Regions from separate parts of the Homo sapiens genome. Here regions 2, 3, 4 and 5 are each linked to region 1. The links are contacts of gene promoters, found by promoter capture Hi-C in blood cells and fetal thymus (Javierre and others, 2016). All regions are on one chromosome and are shown on one strand. The core of a region is centred on a gene start or on the middle of the fragment in contact, and the rest is flanking DNA. Distances in the headings are between cores, read along the strand shown. Region 1 holds the start of KIF21B (kinesin family member 21B). Region 2 holds the start of LOC107985459 (a long non-coding RNA gene). Region 3 overlaps KIF14 (kinesin family member 14). Region 4 has its middle 2.8 kb from the start of KIF14. Region 5 overlaps DDX59 (DEAD-box helicase 59).

What was found. Contacts are between HindIII fragments. The CHiCAGO score rates a contact against its expected background, and 5 or more counts as called.
Region 2: a fragment that was not itself captured here is called in contact with the fragment with the promoter of KIF21B in region 1 in 1 of 17 cell types (fetal thymus); the score reaches 6.6 in fetal thymus.
Region 3: a contact is called between a fragment that was not itself captured here and the fragment with the promoter of KIF21B in region 1, in 1 of 17 cell types (total B cells). The highest score is 5.0, in total B cells.
Region 4: a fragment that was not itself captured here is called in contact with the fragment with the promoter of KIF21B in region 1 in 4 of 17 cell types (naive CD4 T cells, naive CD8 T cells, fetal thymus and 1 more); the score reaches 9.0 in naive CD4 T cells.
Region 5: a contact is called between a fragment that was not itself captured here and the fragment with the promoter of KIF21B in region 1, in 1 of 17 cell types (naive CD8 T cells). The highest score is 5.1, in naive CD8 T cells.

The regions. Positions count from the first base shown.
Region 1 is chr1:201,021,375-201,025,685 of GRCh38, forward strand. KIF21B (kinesin family member 21B) reads right to left here and starts at 2,340. Exons shown (of 35, transcript NM_001252102.2): 1 at 1,969-2,340. The coding sequence starts at 2,009. LOC101929305 (a long non-coding RNA gene) reads left to right here and starts at 2,575. Exons shown (of 4, transcript NR_188464.1): 1 at 2,575-2,711; 2 at 4,130-4,245. RefSeq lists enhancers at 97-226, 535-1,142 and silencers at 1,747-1,796, 2,197-2,556, 2,908-3,065. The HindIII fragment of the contact is 1,958 bases long and covers 820-2,777 here.
Region 2 is chr1:200,528,199-200,532,509 of GRCh38, forward strand. LOC107985459 (a long non-coding RNA gene) reads right to left here and starts at 2,841. Exons shown (of 3, transcript XR_001737816.3): 1 at 2,746-2,841. The HindIII fragment of the contact is 4,535 bases long and covers 119-4,311 here.
Region 3 is chr1:200,604,673-200,608,983 of GRCh38, forward strand. It overlaps KIF14 (kinesin family member 14), which reads right to left. Exons shown (of 30, transcript NM_014875.3): 5 at 4,158-4,256; 6 at 2,074-2,126; 7 at 1,192-1,222; 8 at 611-718. Among named protein-coding and RNA genes, the nearest start is that of KIF14, 14 kb to the right of the region's middle. The HindIII fragment of the contact is 1,924 bases long and covers 1,000-2,923 here.
Region 4 is chr1:200,621,357-200,625,667 of GRCh38, forward strand. No RefSeq gene overlaps it. Among named protein-coding and RNA genes, the nearest start is that of KIF14, 2.8 kb to the left of the region's middle. The HindIII fragment of the contact is 1,646 bases long and covers 1,178-2,823 here.
Region 5 is chr1:200,658,701-200,663,011 of GRCh38, forward strand. DDX59 (DEAD-box helicase 59) reads right to left here. Exons shown (of 8, transcript NM_001031725.6): 4 at 327-416. Among named protein-coding and RNA genes, the nearest start is that of DDX59-AS1, 8.7 kb to the right of the region's middle. The HindIII fragment of the contact is 1,761 bases long and covers 1,602-3,362 here.

The sequences.
Region 1 (4,311 bases), core at 1,090-3,589:
GACCCTGAAAGCCTGACTTCTGATGCTCAAATGCCCCACCCCCAATCCAGATCAGCAACTGAAAGGCAAGGCGTGGGGGCACCCAGACCCCACTTAGGGCAATCTGACTGGGAACCAGAGATGACACACATGGTCCTGAACTGGGTGCAGAGGGCAGGCATGATCCCTTCTCTGCAGAAAGGGTCCCGGGAAGCTTCTAGAGGTGGCAGTGGGAAGAGAACATCAGCTTCTCCTCACTGTGCCAATCCCATGAGGCTCCCCGGGTGGGAGTCCCACATCTTTTCAGCCCCAGTCCAGCCTGGAGACCTGAACAGAGGTAGGGGGCCTTTGTTTAGCTCTCTCCAGCAAGATGGAATCTAAAGGAAACCCCCTGTGGAAAGGGCACCCCCAAGCCCCTTCCTTCCCAGCCCTCATTCACAATGGGTGGGGGCCAGAGCTTCATTTCCCTTTTATGGTGTTCTCGGACTCTCCCAATCTGCTGCAGATGCCATATTTACATTTCTCACTCCCACCCCCCAGCCATGCACCCCTCCCTCGACCTCCACAAGATCCTGCTGCAATGTCAGCCCCAGCAGCAGCCTGGCCCCGCCCCAGTCAGCCCACCAGGCACCTGCAGGGCTCCTCTTTGTCTCTGGCTGCTCAGGGCCAGGAAAGCTGTGCTCAAGTGATTCTTGAGTGCTGCCTAGGGTGCATGGGTGGGGGTGCCTCAATCTCCTTCCCTTCACCCAAGCACTGATCAGTGTCAGCTCCTCTTTGGGCTGCAGAGGCCTGGCCAGGTGGCCGTGGCAAGGGGCATCTGCCCTGGGGCAGGAAGAAGAAAGCTTTTTCATTGCCATCTCTGACTCTGTCTAGGAGCAACCTCCTAGGACCCCTGGAATCTGGGTCACATATGACCCAAGGGATCTAGAGACCTGAGAGACCTACCCTAGACCTGGACAATCCCCCGCCCCCTCCATCATACAGGGCTGGGGCAGAGATAGATGTTCTTGCCACATCCCTACCTTGGTGAGCAGCTCCAGATTGGCACTCTGCCGCCAAGACACCCCTCTCAAAGAGAAAAACCCAAAGCAAAAACTGGGAGAAGTGGTGAGGTGTGAAGCATCTCCACCCAGCACAAAGAACACAGATGGCTCAATTTCACAGCATTTCCTGCTCCTGCACCTTTGTGTACCCCTCCCAATAGAACCCACCCAGCCATGTCCTCTCCCTGTCTCATTTCTGCCGGCTCAAGTCCCGGAGCTGTTGAGAATGGAACCCCAGATAAGTCTAGGCAACCCTCCCCTGCTCAATTTTATCTGAGTGCCTGAGGATGGGGCATCTGCATCACACCCTCCTGCCCTCTCAGAGAGAAGCACCTCAGATACACCTCTTCCTCCCTTCCTAGGCCCATCTCCTCTTGGGACAGGACTGGTAGGATTCTCCCCCAAAGCCATTGACTTCCCACAGAAGGCCAAGGCATCATCCCAGCTTTTCCGTTGGTCCCCGCACCCGATCTTTGTCTGCAGATCTGGCTCCCAGGGTGGGTGTGCTGCCTTTGCTAGCTGGACCAAGAGCACATAACTAGCTGACTCGCATGGATGAGGGGAAATTTCCCTCTCTGGTATCCCCGTATGAGACAGCAGCCTCGTGGGGAGGCGAAGAGGAAACGCACAGACGCTCCGGCCTGGGCCAGAGCTGGGTGTGAAATACCGGATTTCCTTGTTTATTCGATTTTCTGATCATTAAGGGCTCCCAAGAGGGGCCCAAAATTACCACCCAAACAAAGCCACCTTCCAGTAGTCGGCGGGGTCGCCGCTCCCCTGCGGCAGACTGGCCAGCGCGCGGCGCCCTCCATCCCGTCCCACGCCGGCCCCTCCTCCGGGAGTGCAGGCTCCAGCCCAAGCGGTGCTCGCGCCCCCCGCCCAAAGCCCACGCGAGACAAAGCCCGAGGCTTCTCCGCGCGCCCCCTTCCCCGCCCCGGGTCCCTACCTGACGGCCACCTTGACGCAGCAGTCCCCCTGGCCGGCCATGGCCCTCTGGAGCTAGGGTCTGGGCGTGGATCAGAGGCGGGGGTCTGGGGGCCAATGCCCGAGGCAGCGGCTGCGGCTGCGGGAGGCGGGGGCGCGGGCGCGGCTGGCGGAGGCTGCGGCGGCGGCGGCTGGAGGTGACATGCTCGCGGGCGGCAGGCCGAGGGGCTCACCCGCGGCCGGCCCCCCGGGGCTGGGCCCGCGCGCCTCCTCGCGCCATCGGGCGGCGGCGCGGAGCTAGCTGACAGCCGGCGGCGCGACCCGCCGCTCCCTACGGCGCGGCACACGCGCACACACCTCCCACCCGGCAGCCACCTCCCGCCGCAGCGCGAACAAAGGGGGCGGGGGCCGATCCGGCCCCGAGCCCGCCCCGAGCCAGCCCCGAGCCCAGGCCGGGCCCCGCCCCGCCCAGGAGCCGCCAATCGAAAGCCCTAATGAGCAGTGGGGGCGGGACTCGCGCCTTTAAAGGGACCTCTTGGCTCGCGGCCACGGGGTGGCTGGGGGTAGGGGGCGGGATTGAAGGGTGGGGGTGGGGGTAGGGGTGGGAGTAGGGGTGGGGGCGCTGGACGCAGACCACGTTAGAACCTCGGCTCCTGGAGTAGCAGAACCTCGGCTTCAATGGGACCCTCATTTCATAAATGAAGAAACTGAGATTCAAAGAGGGGAACTACCGAAGGTTACAGAGCGAGTTCGTGGGTAAGCATGGTAAGAACCCTGGTCTCCCGGGGATCCCACAGCGATTGACGGTTTATAGTTCAAAAGAGCCAGGAAAGCTTCCCTTCTGCATTTATTCCAGTAAATTCGCCAACCCTTCTCGAAGGGAGTTCTTGCTAGCCCCTAACTAAAATTTCCCCCACCTCCACCCTGCAGCATCTTAAAGCTCATGTTTTAGTTGATTCCTGGCCAGGCTCCTAGCCCAAGACTAGCCCCTCCCTACTGCTAGACGACTGTCCCATTGACCTTTATGACCCACAGATGACCCCACTGGGCCTGGCTCACACTCTGCTTGTTGTGGCTGTGGGGCCAGAGGGTCAGTGTGGGAGGCCTGAGCTGCCCTGGGGGAAAGGAGGGAACAAAGGGGGCCCTCAGTTCCGAGCACCTGGGTAGAGAGGCTGGGCGGTGAAGTGGGTGGGGAAGGGAAGGAGGGCAGCTGCCTGCAGGAATGGGTATAAAGGACAAGGAGGACCATGGAGACTTTAACGCTGGGCCTGGATGGAGGAGGAGACCAGTGCTGCAAAGTCACAATTCCCTTCCCAGTCCATCTCCCTCCCTCTGAGCCCAGACGCCTCTTCCCTGCCCCCTGCCTCCCAACATTGGGGCCATTCACAGGGCCCCTCACCAGCTGCCCTCACTTCACCCAGCTCCCTCCCCTGGAAAGGGCCCAAGAGGAGGACCCAGCTGCAGCCCCAGATGTGGATGGGGATCTCTGGGGGAGGGGAGGAAGGGGAGTCTGACTCCAGGCCTCTTACATTACCCTCAGATGATGAAACCATGTCAGAGATTTTGGCAAGGGTGTGGACTGGGGTCTGAGGATGCATCTGTTGGTACCATCTTCCTCCCCTTCCCTCCTCCACTCACACCCCCCTCCCCGCCAATAACTGCTTCATGCAGTAGCTCAGATCCCTGTTTGGCTTGACCTATTAAGGTCAAATCAAAACCAAAGATAATTTCAAGGGCAAATTTCAAGGGCCAATCAACACATCCTTTTCATCCCCATGGCAAACAGGAGGAGCACCGCCAGCAGTGCCCCCATGATGGGGGCTGGAGAAGAGGTCTTGGTGGTATCCTGGACCTTTTATTAGCATTTGAATCTAGAGGAAGCTCTCCCTGGGGCCAGGGGATCACCTCTCCTGGACCAGGAGGTTAGCAGAATGTTGCAGTCATATCCTGCAACATTCCTCCCCATCTTCCAACCAAAATAATTCGTGGGGAGGAGACTAACACATATGGACCACCTACACAAGGTATTTTATGCACATATTCTCATTTTTTCCCTATAACCTTGTAAGCTAGGCTTTTTTATTCTTTTTAAATTTTGCAGATGGGGAAACTGAGCCTCACATGTATGAATTCCAGCATATAAGCAACAGACTCCAGATTTGGACATGTATATCTTATTCCAGGCTTCCCAGATGACCACCAAGGTGGAAGGGATGATGATGTCCAGGCAGAAGGGAGCTAGGCCGGCCCAGGCTTTTCCTCTAGGCACAGCGGACTCCAGGTTCAGCCTTCCCGGATGGTAATGTTGCATTCTGAAGAGCTACTTTCCCGCCAACTCATCTCTGGACTTCTCTGGGGCCCAACT
Region 2 (4,311 bases), core at 1,136-3,635, 490 kb before region 1:
AATTCAAAAAAAATTTAGCCGGGCGTGGTGGTACACACCTGTAGTCCCAGTTACTCAGTGGCAGGCGTATGTGGGTGGGGGGTTGAGGTGGGAGGATTGTTTGAGCTGGGGAGGTTGAAGCTTCAGTGAGCCCTGATTGTGCCACTGCACTCTAGCCTGGAGAGCAGAGCAAGACCCTATCTCAAAAAATAATAATAATAAAATAAAATAGGCCAGGCACATTGGCTCACACCTGTAATCTCACCACTTTGGGAGGCCGAGGTAGGGGGATCACCTGAGGTCAGGAGTTCGAGACCAGTCTGGCCAACATGGTGAAACCCTGTCTCTACTAAAAATACAAAAATCCCAGCTACTTGGGAGGCTGAGGCAGGAGAATTGCCTGAACCCGGGAGGCGGAGGTTGCAGTGAGCCGAGATTGCACCACTGCACTCCAGCCTGGGCGACAGAGCAAAAATCCGTCTCAATAAATAAATAAATAAATACATAAATAAATAAAGATAAAATAAAATAAAATAAAATAAACAAAGAGGTGTAGCGCATGACTTTCGTGTTCTTTGTATCTCCGCTGTTCTGTGATTCATTGGTCCTAGACGTCATGTGGTCTTTGCTAAGGGAACTAGGATGATGCTATCATTGAATTCTGTTTAGTAACTCTCTGTTCAAACTGCACTTATGCTTTAAAGAGTTGGGAAGTTAACTCTATCATTATTTTAGTGTGGGATCAGTTACCTTATTCTGGGATTGTCTCCACAAAAGCTGGCTGGTTGCCCTCCAGGTATCCTTATCGAAGCCGGGTCTACTCAAATGAAAATCACCGCCACTGGGCCATGCCCAGCTTGGACTGAGCACATGAATCATGTGGCTGTGAGTGATTGTCCCAGCCCAGGACAGTCCCCTGCTTTGTCCTTGCCCATGGGAACTAAGGAGCATCATTCAAAGAATAAAGACCAAGCCCAGAGCTGACAACTAGCTGCCTGGTTTTTCCATCCATGGCTCAAACTCAAAAGAAGAGAAGTGTAAAGCCACTTTAAGAAATAGTAAGTGTCAGCAGAAAATCAGGTTTAAAAAAAAAAACAAAAAACTGCATAACTGAAAACACCACGAGTGACTCTGTGAAGCTCTCCCATTAACATAAGGTCTCAAAGAGGCTGCAAGAGGGGAACAGGACCCCTCAGTTGTAATTAGAGCCACTAACATAAAGCAAGCCAGATTTACTGGAGTTTTTGTTTGTTCTGAAAGCTCAGAAAGGTGAGGTGGCCTGATTTCCTGGGTATTATACAGCTGGGGGGAAACCTAACAGTTATAAAACTGGTTCAAAGCTGCCTGCATGATTTCATATTTTAAAAGTGAAGTGTGAAAAATCTTTTTAAATTTTACTTGCATTAGATCACCTTCTAAGGTTACTAAAGCTCCTAATTAGAGGGCAGGATTCATTTAGAATGAAAAGTGGTTACCATTTTAACCAGTGATAAAAGCTGGCAGACCCCTAAATGACTAACAAGAATGGAAGGTAATCAGGAAGCACTTCTGTTTTACTAAACTGTAGCACCTTTTGCAAATATTGCTAAGTGGTCACCTCCAGCAGCGAGGTAGGATGTTTGAAGGTGAGACCTCTCACCAGAGTGCACTAGGTTCAAATCTCAGCCCTGGCCCTTGTTAGCTGTGTGAATTTTAACCTCTTCTCCGTGTATAAAATGGTGAGCTTAAGGGGCTCCTGTAAAGATTAATGAACAATGTCAGGCAGTATGTGAGTGTGTGGGCATCTCTTTAAATGTGCTTATCCACCAGGTATGGTGGTTCACACCTGTAATCCCAACACTTTGGGAAGCTGAGGCAGGCAGATCACTTGAAGTCAGGAGTTCGAGACCAGCCTGGCCAATATGGTAAAACCCCGTCTCTACTAAAAATACAAAAATTAGCTGGGCGTGGTGGTGCACACCTGTAATCCCAGCTACTCAGGAGGCTGAGGCAGGAGAATCACTTGAAGCCGGGGGGCAGAGGTTGCAGCGAGCCAAGATCGTGCCACTGCACTCCAGCCGGGGCAACAAAGTGAGACTCTGTCTCAAAAAATAAATAAATAAAATAAATGTGTTTATCATATTTCCGGAATGGTTAAGCATATACACTCTCATTTTTGTGGATTGCATTGGTTGGCTCTGTGCTCTATGTCATTTTTCTGCCTCTCCTAGAGGCTTTGGTGTTTGCAACAGGAATTTCAGTCTTCTTGACTTGATAGGGAAAAAAAATGTGGGGGCTAAAGGGCCACCCTGTAAACCCGACCCCATTAGGTGACTGCAAACCTTACAGAAATAAATGAACATGTCAGTGCTGGTTTATGTGTGAAGTGAGGTGTGTTCCCTAACCTGTCAGCAAGCCATATTTTATTTGGATAAAGACCCTAAAATCAAGCACATTTACAGGCTGTTGCAGCCACTCCCATTCTGCTCAGCTAAGCAGCTGCACCCCCCACTTCCCCACAGTGCAGCTGTGATCCTTCCTCGGGGCCCTGGGCTCCTGCATTCAAGCTAGTTCAAAGCATCGAGGCCACACCACCACATCCTCTGCACTCCATAGAGGTGCAGTGGAACTGAGCCCACATTAAGCCAAAACCTCCAAAGAAGCAAAATTTTGCATTTTGTAATGGCTGGTGAGATCGGCATCTATGCTGCCTTACCATGCCCTATCCCGGGGAGATCTCAGAGAGGACACTACTAAAGTCTCCCACACCTCGCCCATGTCACTTACCTGAGTATGATGTCAGGTGAGAGTATGGTCCTATAGCAGAAGACAGGTATTTGTAGTAGAATCTGCTTGTGCCTGCATGTGTGTGTGTGTGTGTGAGAGAGAGAGAGAGAGGAGAGAGAAGAAAGAAAGCCACAGTTAACACTTATTTGGCACTAACTTTGCACCTGGGCACAGTGCTAAGTCACTTTCACACAGTCTCCCTCCTCCTGCAACAGACAAAAGGGCCTTTTCCCTTTATGCCCTCTCTTTCTGAAGACCTGTCTCCTTCCGCTCTCTGCAGACTTTCTTTCCCCCAGAAGTGAACAGGTTTCACGGGTATTGCATGTTTTCACAGCCTCTGGTGGGAGGGTGGGCCCCAGCCTCCCTCTCTGTTTCGCTGCTGGGTAGAGGAGATGGAGCAGCTTCTAGTCCCAAGAGGGAGGGGAAAGGGGCAGGGAAGAAATGATGTGGGGTGATTCCTTTTCTCCTTGTTGCAGTTTGGTAGATTCCCTCCCCTCCATTTGTTTTTCTTTGATTATCACTTAGGAAAAGGGAAAGTCAATCCTATTAATAAGCCTCATCAAGTCTTCATTCAAGATCAACTCCTCTATTAACATGACTTTGACTTTATTACGTGAATGAAACATTTGTCCCCTATCCCACCTAGCGTTCCTTACAAAGTCCTATTCCATTAATTTCACACTGGAAGGCAGGCACTATGCCCAATCTCTCTATCCTAATTCTTTTTTTTCTTTTTTCTTTTTTTTTTTTTTTTTTGAGATGGAGATTTTACTCTTGTTGCTCAGGCTGGAGTGCAGTGGCACGATCTCAGCTCACTGCAACCTCCGCCTCCCAGGTTCAAGCAATTCTCCTGCCTCAGCCTCCCAAATAGCTGGGATTACAGGCATCCGCCACCACGCCTGGCTAATTTTTATATTTTTAATAGAGACAGGGTTTCACCATGTTGGCCAGGCTAATCTCAAACTCCTGACCTCAAGTGATCTGCCCGCCTCAGCCTCCCAAAGTGCTGGGATTACAGGCGTGAGCCACCATGCCTGGCCTCTCTATCCTAATTCTTGAATTCCCCCTCCAATGGGGGAAGAGACTGGGAAGGGCATTTCCTCCACACTCCCAATAGGACCTTGAAATTGCTTGCTTTTCTGGGTCTAAACTAAATCCTCTTCCACTTGGCTGTATGCTGGGGAGGCTGAACCATATGGCCCATTCCAGGGGGTTCCCTTGCCTTGTCTGGCTTCTTGTTGGATTTGGCCCCAGGGGGAGTCTGGAGGGAGGCAGGAGAGTGAGGACTAGGCAGTCATTTCCCCTGCTCCCTCCCTCACTATGGGATCACATCAGGCCAGTTAGGTCCCTGACCAAATGGACTCTCAGGTAGCACACTCCACAAAGCCCACTCGACTTTGTTGTTCTTGTCATCTAATTAACAACAGTTAATCAATTCTTCCTGTGTGGGTTTATCATACTGAAGACACTTTTTTTTTTGAGACAGAGTTTCACTCTGTCACCCAGGCTGGAGTGCAGTGGTGCAATATCAGCTCACTGCAACCTCCACCTTTCAGGTTCAAGGGA
Region 3 (4,311 bases), core at 712-3,211, 420 kb before region 1:
TTAAAAATTATTTTATAAAAATTTTAATAACATAAAATTGTTACAGATTTTAACAGTGTGATTTTAAGTGAATTTAATTGTGATGGTAAAAAAATTGAAAGACTATATACCAAAATGTTTAGAGGGGTTTATCTGAATGGTGGAACCTATGGCTAAATTTTAAAAAATCTTTTACTTTCTGATGTTTTTCTAAATACTCTGCATAATTACTATATATGAAAATATACTATCATATATTGATATGATCATATCAATGTTATCATGATAACAAGCATCTATTATTGATTTAAAAATCTGGTAAACGGTATACTGCCATAAGTCATTTGGTCATTGACCAAAAGTCATTGAAACTAAGGCATATTTCCTACAATCAAATTAAGTTTATATATTTATATGACTGTACTTTTACCTTTTGATTTAAAGAAGACAATAAGAAAAACATGAAACTTAAATGTATTTACTATCTTGCCTGTGGAAAAAAAATACCTTGGTCTGGGTGATCACCAGGGTGAAAACTGAATGAGATCGGGAACTTTTTAAAAAAATACCTTGGTCTGGGTTATCACCAGGGTGAAAACTGAAAGAGATCGGGAACTTTTAAAAAAAATACCTTGGTCTGGGTCATCACCAGGGTGAAAACTGAATGAGATCGGGAACTTTTATCATTCATACCAGTAGCAGCAGTAGCTCTTTGTTTATTTCCCAATTCTAGCCAACTCTTATAAGAAAAAAGGAAGGAAGATCAGATCAGCAGACTGTAACTCAATGATATAAAAATTAAGAGAGACAACATATACACATTTGTAATTCAGATCAGCAGACTGTAACTCAATGATATAAAAATTAAGAGAGATAACATATACACATTTGTAATTAATTTATAAAATGAAATGAGTAAATATTTATCTTTTAATAATTTGTATTCCCATTGCCTTTTTTTCTGTCATAGAAATCTGAGGCAGGAAATAATAACTTTAAAAGGCTGTTTCCATAACTCTAAGCTTACATGAAGGTCAACATTTTTAATAAAGAAGAGCAATTATTTTGATTAAAACTTAACAAAATCGGTTTGTGATAAATTAAGGAAACTAACCTTTTATTTGTAAAACAGCAATTAAGAAAAAATATTCTTATAAATATTTAGGATTATGCTCTTTCTATCTAGTGAAAAGAAAACAAAATCAATCTTACCTGGATATCAGCGTAAGAACTGACAATGTTCCTATTTTTAAGAAGTGAAAAGACAAAATCAATTTTACTGATGATTATACTCTTGTTCTCATAAAACAATAACATTTCAATTACATATTTACGCTGAAGATCACAATGGACTAATTCATGAATATTATTTTATTGATTCTCCCAGAATCTTTTATTTTCCCCATTCTTGAAGGACAGGAAATAAAATAATGCTTTAATTTTAACAAAAAGTATGATTTTTCTTAATACAATGAAGCACCTTAGCATCTTAATATTCAAGTCTAAGTCACAATACCAAAAGATATACTTTAACACATATGTATATGCATAGGTATATTTATATGTGGGTGTATATGGGTCCCAATACAATCCCAGATGTATTAAATGCAGCTGAGTTAATACTTAATAACTTTTCCTTTCCTTTAAGAAAGCATTTGCAGTGTTGGAAAAAAAAGTAAATGACTCCTAGCATGCATCAAACTCTTAACTCTTCTTAGTACCCTCTTCCCTGTCTAGCTTAGAGTCATAGGTATAAAAAGCAGGTTGAGAGGGAAGATTAAATTAATAGTGAAAGGAAGGGGTAAAAGAAAGAAAAAGCAAATATTTACTTCATAGTATAATGAATACTCCATGGCAGACACTTTACAGGTACTATGAAAGACACATGCAAGTATTAAAACAAGTAACTAACACTCTATGGAAAGAGAGGGAAAACCTAATTGGACAATATCAAGGGTAGAAGGCTAAATAAATAGTTACCCAGGGTTTCAAAGTTAGGAAGGCCAATGAGAATACAATAAAGATTATGGGAGAGTAACATTCACTCTATTCATTTGTTTTATCCTCTTTGCCCTTGCTGAGCCAAATACTTACATTGACAGTGCTTCAACATATGGTCCATAAACAGGATGTTCCCTCACTCTCAGCTAGAAGAAGCAAATACATGCATCATTAGGAGTATGACAAATATTTCATGTAACTTGAAATGATCACTTTTTCTACATCTTGAGTTTAAGGTAAGAGATTTGTCTTTATTTTATCCAGGAAAAAAAAAAACCACAAAAACTCTCACAAAAACAAATCTGTAAGGCATTAGGAAACAGCTTCAATATAAAAAACTGTTCATAGTAGCACAATATGCAACAATATATTGTAGCATCAAGTCTTACTAGTTTTTTTATTCTTAAAAAACTGCTATTAGAATTGTCTAATAGACAATAATTAGAACAATATATTTTAGCATCAGATGTCTTACTAGTTTTTTGTTTGTTTGTTTGTCTGTTTTGAGACAGAGTCCTGCTCTGTGGCCCAGGCTGGAGTACAGTGGTGCAATCTTGGCTCAGTGCAACCTCTGCCTCCTGGGTTCAAGCGATTCTCCTACCTCGGCCTTCTGAGTAGCTGAGATTACAAGACAGTGCCACCACACCAGCTAACTTTTGTATTTTCAGTAGAGAAGGAGTTTCACCATGTTGGCTAGGCTGGTCGGGAACTCCTGACCTCAAGTGATCCGCCCACCTCAGCCTCCCAAAGTACTGGGATTGCAGGCGTCAGCCACCGTACCCAGCTTGTCTTCCTAGTTTTTCAGTAAGACATTTGAATGTTAAATCTTGCAGTAGCTATGATTTATATACTTTTAAATGCTCTCTAAAACATATTCGTTAAATTTCAGACATTAAAATTTTTCTTTATTGTTACATTATACATTTTCAACTTTGTGACCAGAAGCTTTAAACATATAGAAATCATAGAAGCAAATGTCAAGTTTTGTTTAAGTTTCTTGATGTTGCCAATAGTAAACTGCACAAACATGGGCAAGTGAAGAAGACAGCTGACTTCCTTTTTTTTCTTGAAATGGAGTCTTGCTCTGTCGCCAGGCTGGAGTGCGGTGGTGAAATCTCGGCTCACTGAAACCTCTGCCCCCGGGTTCAAGCGATTCTCCTGCATCAGCCTCCTGAGTAGCTGGGACTACAGGCACGCGCCACCATGCCAAGCTAATTTTTGTATTTTTAGTAGAGACAGGGTTTCACCATGTTGGCCAGGATGGTCTCCATCTCTTGACCTAGTGATCCACCTGCCTTGACCTCCCAAAGTGCTGTGATTACAGGTGTGAGCCAACACGCCCAGCCGTCTTCTTTAGATTTTTGTTTATTGTGCTCCAAGGTCCATTGCAAAATTAAAAATTTTAAATTTGAATAGCAGTTTTTAAAAAAGATTATATAATTGTGAAACTTTCTATTTCACAGATTATCTACAAGGTATGAATTTGCTAAATAATCCACTGAAATACATATTCTATAATAAAAATATAATTTTAAAAAGTTTTACTATGTTTTGGCTTATAGACTATTAGGGATCTGGTGTTCAACTTACATGGTCCAACTAAATCTCAGAACAAATATTTTATCTTTAGTTTTATACAATTCTTCATTAAAATAAAGAGGTTAAATCTGATAACTAATTTAATTTCTACTAGTGATAATGTTCCGCTTCTTTTCTTTTTTTTTTTTTTGGAGACGAAGTCTCACTCTGTCGCCCAGGCTGGAGTACAGTGGCTTGATCTCGGCTCACTGCAACCTGCCTCCCAGGTTCAAGCAATTCTCCTGCCTCAGCCTCTGGAGAAGCTGGGACTATAGGTGCAATCCGCCACACCCGGCTAATTTTTTGTATTTTAGTAGAGACAGGGTTTCACTGTGTTGTCCAGGCTGGTCTTGAACTCCTGAGCTCTGGCAGTCTGCCCCCCTCAGCCTCCCAAAGTGCTGGGATTACAGGAGTGAGCCACCATGCCCGGCCAGTGCTCTGCTTATTTTCTAAATAATCTAATTGGACTGTAGATCCAAGCATTTGCTTTCATATAATTCTAGTAAAACTTTAAGCTATACCATCCAGAGAACTCAAATAATTAGATACATTTATAAGAACAGAAATTCAAAACAAATAATAAATTGTTTTAATCTTACTGGTTGCTTTCTCTGCCCATTTTCATCTTTACAAACCAGAAGGTCGTGAATTTTTTCATTATATACTTCAAAGAAGCTCATTTCAATGTGATAGCTGACCTAGTAGGAATAGAAACACAGCATATAATTTATTTTGATGTTTTGCAAATCATAT
Region 4 (4,311 bases), core at 751-3,250, 400 kb before region 1:
AAGTTCCCTTTTTTTAATTTTTTTTTTCTTTTTTGAGACGGAGTCTCGCTCTGCAGCCCAGGCTGGAGTGCAGTGGCCCCTGCAACCTCCGCCTCCCTGGTTCAAGCGATTCTCCTGCCTCAGCCTCTGGAGTAGCTGGGATTACAGGCGCGCACCACCACGCCCAGCTAATTTTTGTATTTTTAGTAGAGACGGGGTTTCACCATATTGGCCAGGCTGGTCTCGAATTCCTGACCTTGTAAGCTGCCAGGCGTGAGCCACTGCGCCGCCCAGCCCCCATAAGATTTTGAAATCTGAAAAAATATTACAAATACATTCTGAAAAATAACCAAATAAATGAGAAAGACTAGATAAATAGATATTGTAAAGCAACAATGTTTTTTAAACAGGCAAAAAGTACAGAGATATTGAAGAAGTATTCACTGAGATAGAGACCATAAGTAGCTCCAATTATATAGACCAACCAAACAGATGATAAAGTACTCATTCTAAATCTTACTCTAAAAATCATTCTAAAACTCAATTAAAATTAAGGTATAAGGAAACTATCAGAAAATAGAATATAATATTTATCAGGGCCAGGTGCGGTGGCTCACGCCTGTAATCTTAGCACTTTGGGAGACCAAGGCAGGCGGATCACTTGCAGTCAGGAGTTTAAAACCAGCCTGGCTAACATGGTGAAACCCCGTCTCTCCTAAAAATACAAAAATTAGGCAGCCGTGGTGGCGGGCCCCTGTAATCCCCGTTACTCAGGAGGCTGAGGCAGGAGAATCACGTGAACCGGGTAGGCGGAGGTTGCAGTGAGCCGAGATCGCGCCATTGCACTCCAGCCTGGGGGACAAGAGAGAAACTCCGTCTCAAGAAAAAAAAAAAAAAAAGTTATCACATCTATGGGAAAATGATCATTCAATTTAGAAACAAAGCAAGATATGTCAAAGAAAAGACAGACAAACTCAAATACATAAAAATTTTAAACATATGTATAATTCAAAATAATAAAAATAAAATGTAACTGGAAATATATATTAAACATGACAGAAGACATAAAGACCTTTTTCAATTTTAAAAGGAAAATAAGCTCATAAATAGAATAAAGCAAGTATTTTTTTAAATCCACCAGAGGGAGACAAACAGAAAGAAAACGTGGAAAGAGTCGAAGTAAAACTGGCACGTTTGAAGCTTTCTGGATTATGTAAGATTTAAAGAAAAATGATTAACTCATGCTAATTAATGATCTCTTAAGATTAAATTTTTTTTTTTTGAGACGGAGTTTCGCTCTAGTTGCCCAGGCTGGAGTGCAATGGCTTGATCTTGGCTCACCGCAACGTCCGTCTCCCAGGTTCAAGCGATTCTCCTGCCTCAGCCTCCCGAGTAGATGGGATTACAGGCGTGCACCACAACCCCAGCTAATTTTGTATTTTTAGTAGAGAAGGGGTTTCTCCATGTTGGTCAAGCTGGTCTCGAACTCTCGACCTTAGGTGATCCACCTACCTCAGCCCCCCAAAGTGCTGGGATTACAGGCGTGAGCCACTGCGCCCGGCCTAAGATTAAATCTATTACAATTTAGCAAATTTCACAATTTTTAAATTATTAAAATGTGGTATGTATTTTCCTGGTGTTTGTATCTAGTTGCACTTGGGGTCTATAACGAAAAGGTGCAATAGGAAATTAATAATTTTAAAATGCAAAGGACAAAGCAAAAGTTGTGGAAAAGTGGTAAGAGCACTTTGGATTCTAGCTGAGGATCTGTCTCAACCTAATGGTGAGACCAGAGATAAGTCTCCTTACTGTAGATCCCTCGCTTGTGAAACGAAAGTGCTGGATTAAATCATCATAACCAGCAAGGATTGAGTCCTTTCTTTGTGCAAGATAAATAACCTAACTCCATAACCTTATAAGATAGGTATTATGATTATCGCTGTTTTACACATGAGGGAAAGTGGGTTTCCAAGGAGTTAAATAGCTTGCCTGACATTATACAACTACTGGGTCACAGAGTTAGGTTCAGAACTCAGGAAATTAAACACCATTTCCTGTGCTCTGTACCACTACCCTGTACAACAGTTTTTACAGATTCTTTCTGGATCTCAAATGTCTATGGCTTTATAATAAGGACAAGAGTTAAACAAACTGCATGAACCTAAAGGTATTTTAAAATCTGTCATATTTTGTATTTTCCTTCTAATTTTCTTTTTTTTATTTTTATTATTATTATTATTATTATTTTGAGACGGAGTCTTGCTCTGTCGCCCAGGCTAGAGTGCAGTGGCGCCATCTTGGCTCACAGCAAGCTCTGCCTCCCGGGTTCACGCCATTCTCCTGCCTCAGCCTCCTGAGCAGCTGGGACTATAGGCATGCGCCACCACGCCTGGCTAATTTTTTGTATTTTTAGTAGAGACAGGGTTTCACCATGTTAGCCAGGATGATCTCGATCTCCTGACCTCGTGATCCACCCGCCTCGGCCTCCCAAAGTGTTGGGATTACAGGCGTGAGCCACCGCGCCCGGCCCTAATTTTCTTTTTCTTTCTTTTCTTTTTTCTTTTTTTTTTTTTTTTTTTGAGACAGGGTCTCAATCTGTTGTCCAGGCTGGAGGGCAGTGTCATGACCATGGCTCACAGCAGCCTCAACTTCCCTGGGCTCAGGTGATTCCCCCGGCTCAGGTGATTCCCCTCACCTCAGCCTCCAGAGTAGCTGGGACTACAGGTGCATGCCACCACGCCCAGTTAATTTTTGCATTTTTTTGTGGTGACGGGATTTCACCATGTTGCCCAGGCTGGTCTCTAACTCCTGAGCTCAAGCGATCCACCTGCCTTGGCTTCCCAAAGCTTTGGGATTACCGGCGGGAGCCCCTGTGCCTGGGCTCCTTCTGCTTTCTAATACATGTTAGACCAAGAGTCTTGGAAGTATCCACTATAATATGCTTACATTTTTTTTTATCAGGTCTTGTTGATGAATCTTTATGAATTCAGTTGTTGTCACTTGGTGAAAAAATCTAAATACATTCAGCAATACTGCCAATAATTTTAAAAGAACAATTATGCAAGTAATCCCTATTATTATTATTATTATTATCATTAATATTATTTTGAGACAGAGTTTCACTCTTGTTGCCCAGGCTGGAGTGCAGTGGTGCGATCTTGGCTCTGCCTCCCGAGTTCAAGCAATTCTCCTGCCGCAGCCTCCTGAGTAGCTGGGATTACAGGCATGCGCCACCACGCCTGGCTAATTTTGTATTTTTAGTAGAGACAGGGTTTCTCCATGTTGGTTAGGCTGGTCTCGAACTCAGGTGATCCACTCCCCTCGGCCTCCCAAAGTGCTGGGATTACAGGCGTGAGCCACCACACCCAGCCTAGTAATCCTTTTTAATATATAAAGAAAAGAACTCAGGGATTAGAAAATATTATAGACTCTCTTTTTCTCTTTGAGTCATGCTGGTTTCATTCCAGGGAAGATTAGCAAGATTTAAAAACCATTGTCAGCCCCAAAGCCTAGTGAGTATCCTATTTTTACATAAAGGAAGCTTGGGTCTTACATAAAGTTTCATTTAGGAAGAACAATTTTTTTTAAGGCCTAGTTTGACCTTCAATTGGTTGTCTTCTTCCCATTGTGCTTTGCCAACATAGCCCAAGGTCATTCTGACATCCTGTTGAAAATGCTGGGGATTCCTCCAAGTAGACTTGTAGGTATTTTCCTAAAATGGATAATGAAAAGCTTCAAGTCACTTACTTTTCAACAAATTTACAGAGAGGTATTAGGTGATCTCAATAAGAATGTTGAGTATGTACAAATCACTCAGCTGTCTGTACTAACCCCAAAATAGTTCATAATCTCATTTCTTTTCGGTGGTACATGTCAATACTAGCAGTGTCTAGGCTGCCTAGAATTGCCTAGAATGACACATGTTTAGTTGTTTTTATAATCAATTTTTAGTTTGTGTATTCACATAAATCAATTTTCTAATTTAAAAAACAGCATAAAAAAGATTGTGTCAAGTAATTGCTTCTCATGTTCGTGGGTATAAAAGGGCAACTGTCAAGTAAGAAGCCACCTGGATTGCAAGAATTATACATCATCTCAGTCTTTCTAGAGGGGAGAGAGGGGAGTTTTTCTTCAGTGTTGTAGCTTCATGAATAATTCCACACCCATCCACATGTCTTTACCCGTTTACATAAGGTTTTTTTTTTTTTTTTTTTTTTTTTTTTTGGTTTAGACCACAGGCTGTTCTCTGATTCACTCAGGGGAAAAAAACATCTACCATCAGAAAGAGTTCTGCTCTTTTTTTTTTTTTTTTCTTTTTCAGATACAACAGTC
Region 5 (4,311 bases), core at 1,232-3,731, 360 kb before region 1:
TCTCATTACTTGACACTGACTATTTTTGTAAACAAATAATAGTAAGCATCAAATGCTTAAAAAAAAACAACTTACCATTGAGAATAGAGTACATATTGAATTTGTGTTTTCTGTCAATTAGGAAAAGACAGCTCTGGTTTAATTTTAGTGTAGTACACATTATGTTAGCTTCAGTGCTACACAGGAACCTGCTGCAATGCTTTAAAAGTCCCTGAGGTTTTTTTTGAGAGAGAGAAAAGGTACTGAACATACAATGAAATTATATAACTATACTTTCCATAAATTGTGTAAAATCATGTAACTGTTTTTTAAATACCACTACTTACTTCATCTACTACCACAATCTTTACACCACAGAGTTCTACAGAGCTCTGCTTTATTATATCCAGAAGTCGCCCAGGGGTTGCTATGATAACCTAAATAAAAGAGAAAAAGCAAATTAAAAAAATCAGTAATAGCTATTTTCATTCATTCATTCCATATTGATTGAGCAACTAATATGTACCAGACACTGTGTTAAGCACCCAGAATTCAGTGATGAATAAGCCAGACATAGTCTCTGCTCTCATGAAACTTGTAATACAAAGGAAGAAACAGATAAAACCAGAAAGTACTCATGAGATAAATACACTAAGCCATAACTGGAGGGACCTATCCAGTCCTACCCAACACACAGGTCAAACCTAAAGGATGAGTGGGCATGAGCAAGGTGAGGAGTGATTAAGGAGAAAAGTATCTGTGACATTCCTGAGGCTGGGAGGCCAGTGAAGTTTCTAAATGGTAAGGAATGGGGAGAATGGGGCAGGCTGAGGCAGGCACCAAGGCACCAGGAAGGACCTTGTAGGCAGTTTGATTGCTATGGTTCTATAAACAAGTGAAAATTCCGTAACATCTTTGGGCTTTTTATTTCATTTTTAAATTAAGAGGTTGGGCAAAGTGATTTCTAAGGTTGCTTAAGGCTCTTAATAATTTTATAACATGTTAGTGGCTAACAATGGGGGCTTTTTGTTGTTGTTGTTGATATAATCTCGCTCTGTCACCCAGCAGGGAGTGCGTGGCTCACTGTAGCCTCAACTTCCCCAGCTCCAGGGGTCTTCCTGCCTCAGCCTCCCATGTAACTAGGATTACAGGCATGCCACCACACCTGGCTAATTTTTTGTTTTTTTGCAGAGACAAGGTCTCTATGCTACCCAGGCTGGTCTCAAACTCCTGGGCTCAAGTAATCCTCCCGCCTTGGCCTCCCAAAGTGCTGGGATTACAAGTGTAAGCTACTGCATTCAGCTTATTTTTACCTTTTTTTAAACAAGAAGGAAAAATGCTTTAATACCAATCACATCTCCCCTGTGCTTCTAAGCTACTGTTGGCCAGTATTTAACTTCTATTGTATTTTGAAACCTACAGGTTGTTCATTATGATTACTGTTTCATTCAATGTTTCCTGAGATTTACCCACATGCTTACTATTTTCCTTGGCCACCATTATTTCTTCCATCCCACACCCTCCTTTCTGGCACAATCTTCTTTATCTGTAGACTACCTTAGTTTTAAAGTTCTCTTACATGGTGTACTGGTATTAACTTTCTCAGTTTTGTTTATCTGAAAAGCTTTTTATGTTGTCCTTGCTCTTGGAGGGCAACTTTGCTGAACAGAGGTTTTGGTTATGTTTTCTCAGAGGGCACCTGGGAGAGAGCTCAGGCTGGTGAGAGGGGTGGGAGTGACAGGTGGGCAAGCAGGAGCCTCCACAGAAAGGCGGCCCTGCATGGGGTGCTGCAGCCTGAGGGGCTGAGGAGAGTGCAGGGTGGAGTCTGGTGAGGAGGGCATCGCTGTGGGCAGGGCGGTGCTGATGGCGGGAGGTAGGCTACATAGAGGAGGATTGGTCAAATAAATAAACAAATACATAAATGAAAATGAGTGGCAGGTTTCTGTCAGTTACAAACATGAATGAATCCTGTTGCATTGAATTGGAATTGGAAGTATCAACATGAACTCATAGTCTCATGGTTTCTAATAAATATAGATACAGAAAAACACACACTTAGATATACAGCTGACCCTTGAACAACATGGATTTCAACTGTGTGAGTCCACTGAAACATACCAATTTCAACCAAACACGGACCAACAATACTCGAGTTCAGCAGGGCCAACTGCAAGATTCAAGTCTGCAAAGATTTTGGTACATACGCAGGGGATCCTGGAACCAATCCCTGGCAGACGCCCAGCGATGACTGTATTCCCTAGCTCTATCCACTGGGAAGTCCTAGAAGCAGTGATAGTCCAATAGCAATCAACGCACATAGCCCAGATCTTTCTTTTTAAATACTATCCTCTAGTAAAATAAACCAGGGCTCCTTGGAGAAGGCATGATTCCAGGGCTGGGGCAGGGAAAGAAAAATGTAAGTATGGAACATCTTCTTTAGATAGAAGGTAAGGAAGACTCAAAGAATGATGGAGATCTGAACAAAGGACATAGAAACCAACTTGAAGGTGCTTCCACTGGCCAGATAGAGATCAACTGGAGTATCAAAACAAATAATGATAATAGATTGTAAACCTTTGAATAACAGGAAGCTGTGAGTCCATACAGATATAAATAAATATATAAATAAATTCAAAGTGTGGTGAAGAATGAGAAATTTACATTTCAAAGTACACCTCAAAGTACTCTCCCCAAAATATTTACTAAACTCAAAGGGGAAAAAAATAAACTTGACAATTACTTTACAGATCCTATCACTAGGAAAAGGACATACTGATACTCTGTGCAACCTAAAAGGATGCAATGAAAAAAACAAAGCATCTCTTCTGTGATATTCCTGTCAAAGACATGTAACTTGAATCTAATCAAATGAGGGATGTTCTTCAAAGTAAGTGGCTTGTAAACCTTAAAAGGGCCAAGATTATGAGGAAAAAAGGAAAGATGGAAGAGCTGTTTCAAATTGAAGGAGATGACAAAGACACAACAACTAAATGCAACATGTGATTCTGAACTGGATTCTTGTGCTATAAAAAGTGATGGAACAATTATAAAAATGTGAATGGGGACTGAGGAGTAGATGATACCAATATTAATTCCTGATGTAATCTACTCTATCAACGTGATACTGTTTGGATCTGTGTCCCCACCCAAATTGCATGTCGAACTGTAATCCCCAATGTTGGAGGTGGGATCTGGAGGGAGGTGATTGGATCATGGGGGCTATTTCTCATGGTTTAACACCCTTCCCCTTGGTGCTGTCATCATGATAGTTCTTGTGAGATCTAGTTGTTTAAAAGTGTGTAGCACCTCCCCACTCTCTTTCTTCCTCCTGCTCTGGCCACGTGAAGCTCCTCGCACCCCCTCTGCCTTCTGCCATGATTGGAAGCTTCCTGAGGCCTCCTTAGAGGCAGAAGCCACTATGCTTCCTGTACAGCCTGCAGAACCATGAGCCAATTAAAGTTCTTTTCTTTATAAATTAGTCTCAGGTATTTCTTTATAGCAGTGCAAGCATGGACTAATACACAATGTTAATTTCCTGATTCCATAATTGTATTACAGTTATGTAAGATAATGTCCTTGTTTGTAGCAATCATACTGTAAAGTATATGGGGGTGATAGGGCATCAAGTCAGCAAGTTACTTCCAGAAGGTTTGGGAGGAAAAAAAAGTTCCATTTACTGTACTTACCACCTTTCTTTAAGTTTGAGATTGTTTTTTTAAAAAATGTGTGCTTTGGGAGGCCGAGGCAGGTGGATCACCTGAGCTCAGGAGTTTGAGACCAGCCTGGCCAACATGGTGAAATCCCATCTCTACTAAAAATACAAAAACTTAGCTGGGCATGGTGGTGGGCGCCTGTAGTCCCAGCTACTCTGGAGGCTGAGGCAGAAGAATCGCTTGAACCTGGGAGACGGAGGTTGCAGTGAGCAGAGGTTGCACCACTGCACTCCAGCCTGGGCAACTAGAGACTAACACCAATACATTAACATATATTTTTTTAAGAATTGGAATGCAAGCTTAGTTTAAAAGCTGTTAGAAGTTTGCAGCTACTTATGCGTTTGAATTATAATGTTATCCATTCGTTGCAATGAAAATAAATTTAAGGCAGAGGTTGATATGAGACTGCAGTTAAACTCCATTAACCCAACTTCAAATTTGATGCCCATCAAAAGTACTTGTATTGTTTACTTTATAAATATATACTGCTGAACTTATAATTTGGCATTAATATCACCTTTGTCTGTTTTATATACTGGAGGTCCACCTTAAAAAATCACTGATCCAATATCCCATTAATTATCAACCTGTAATTTCTTAAAACAACATTTTACAGGCT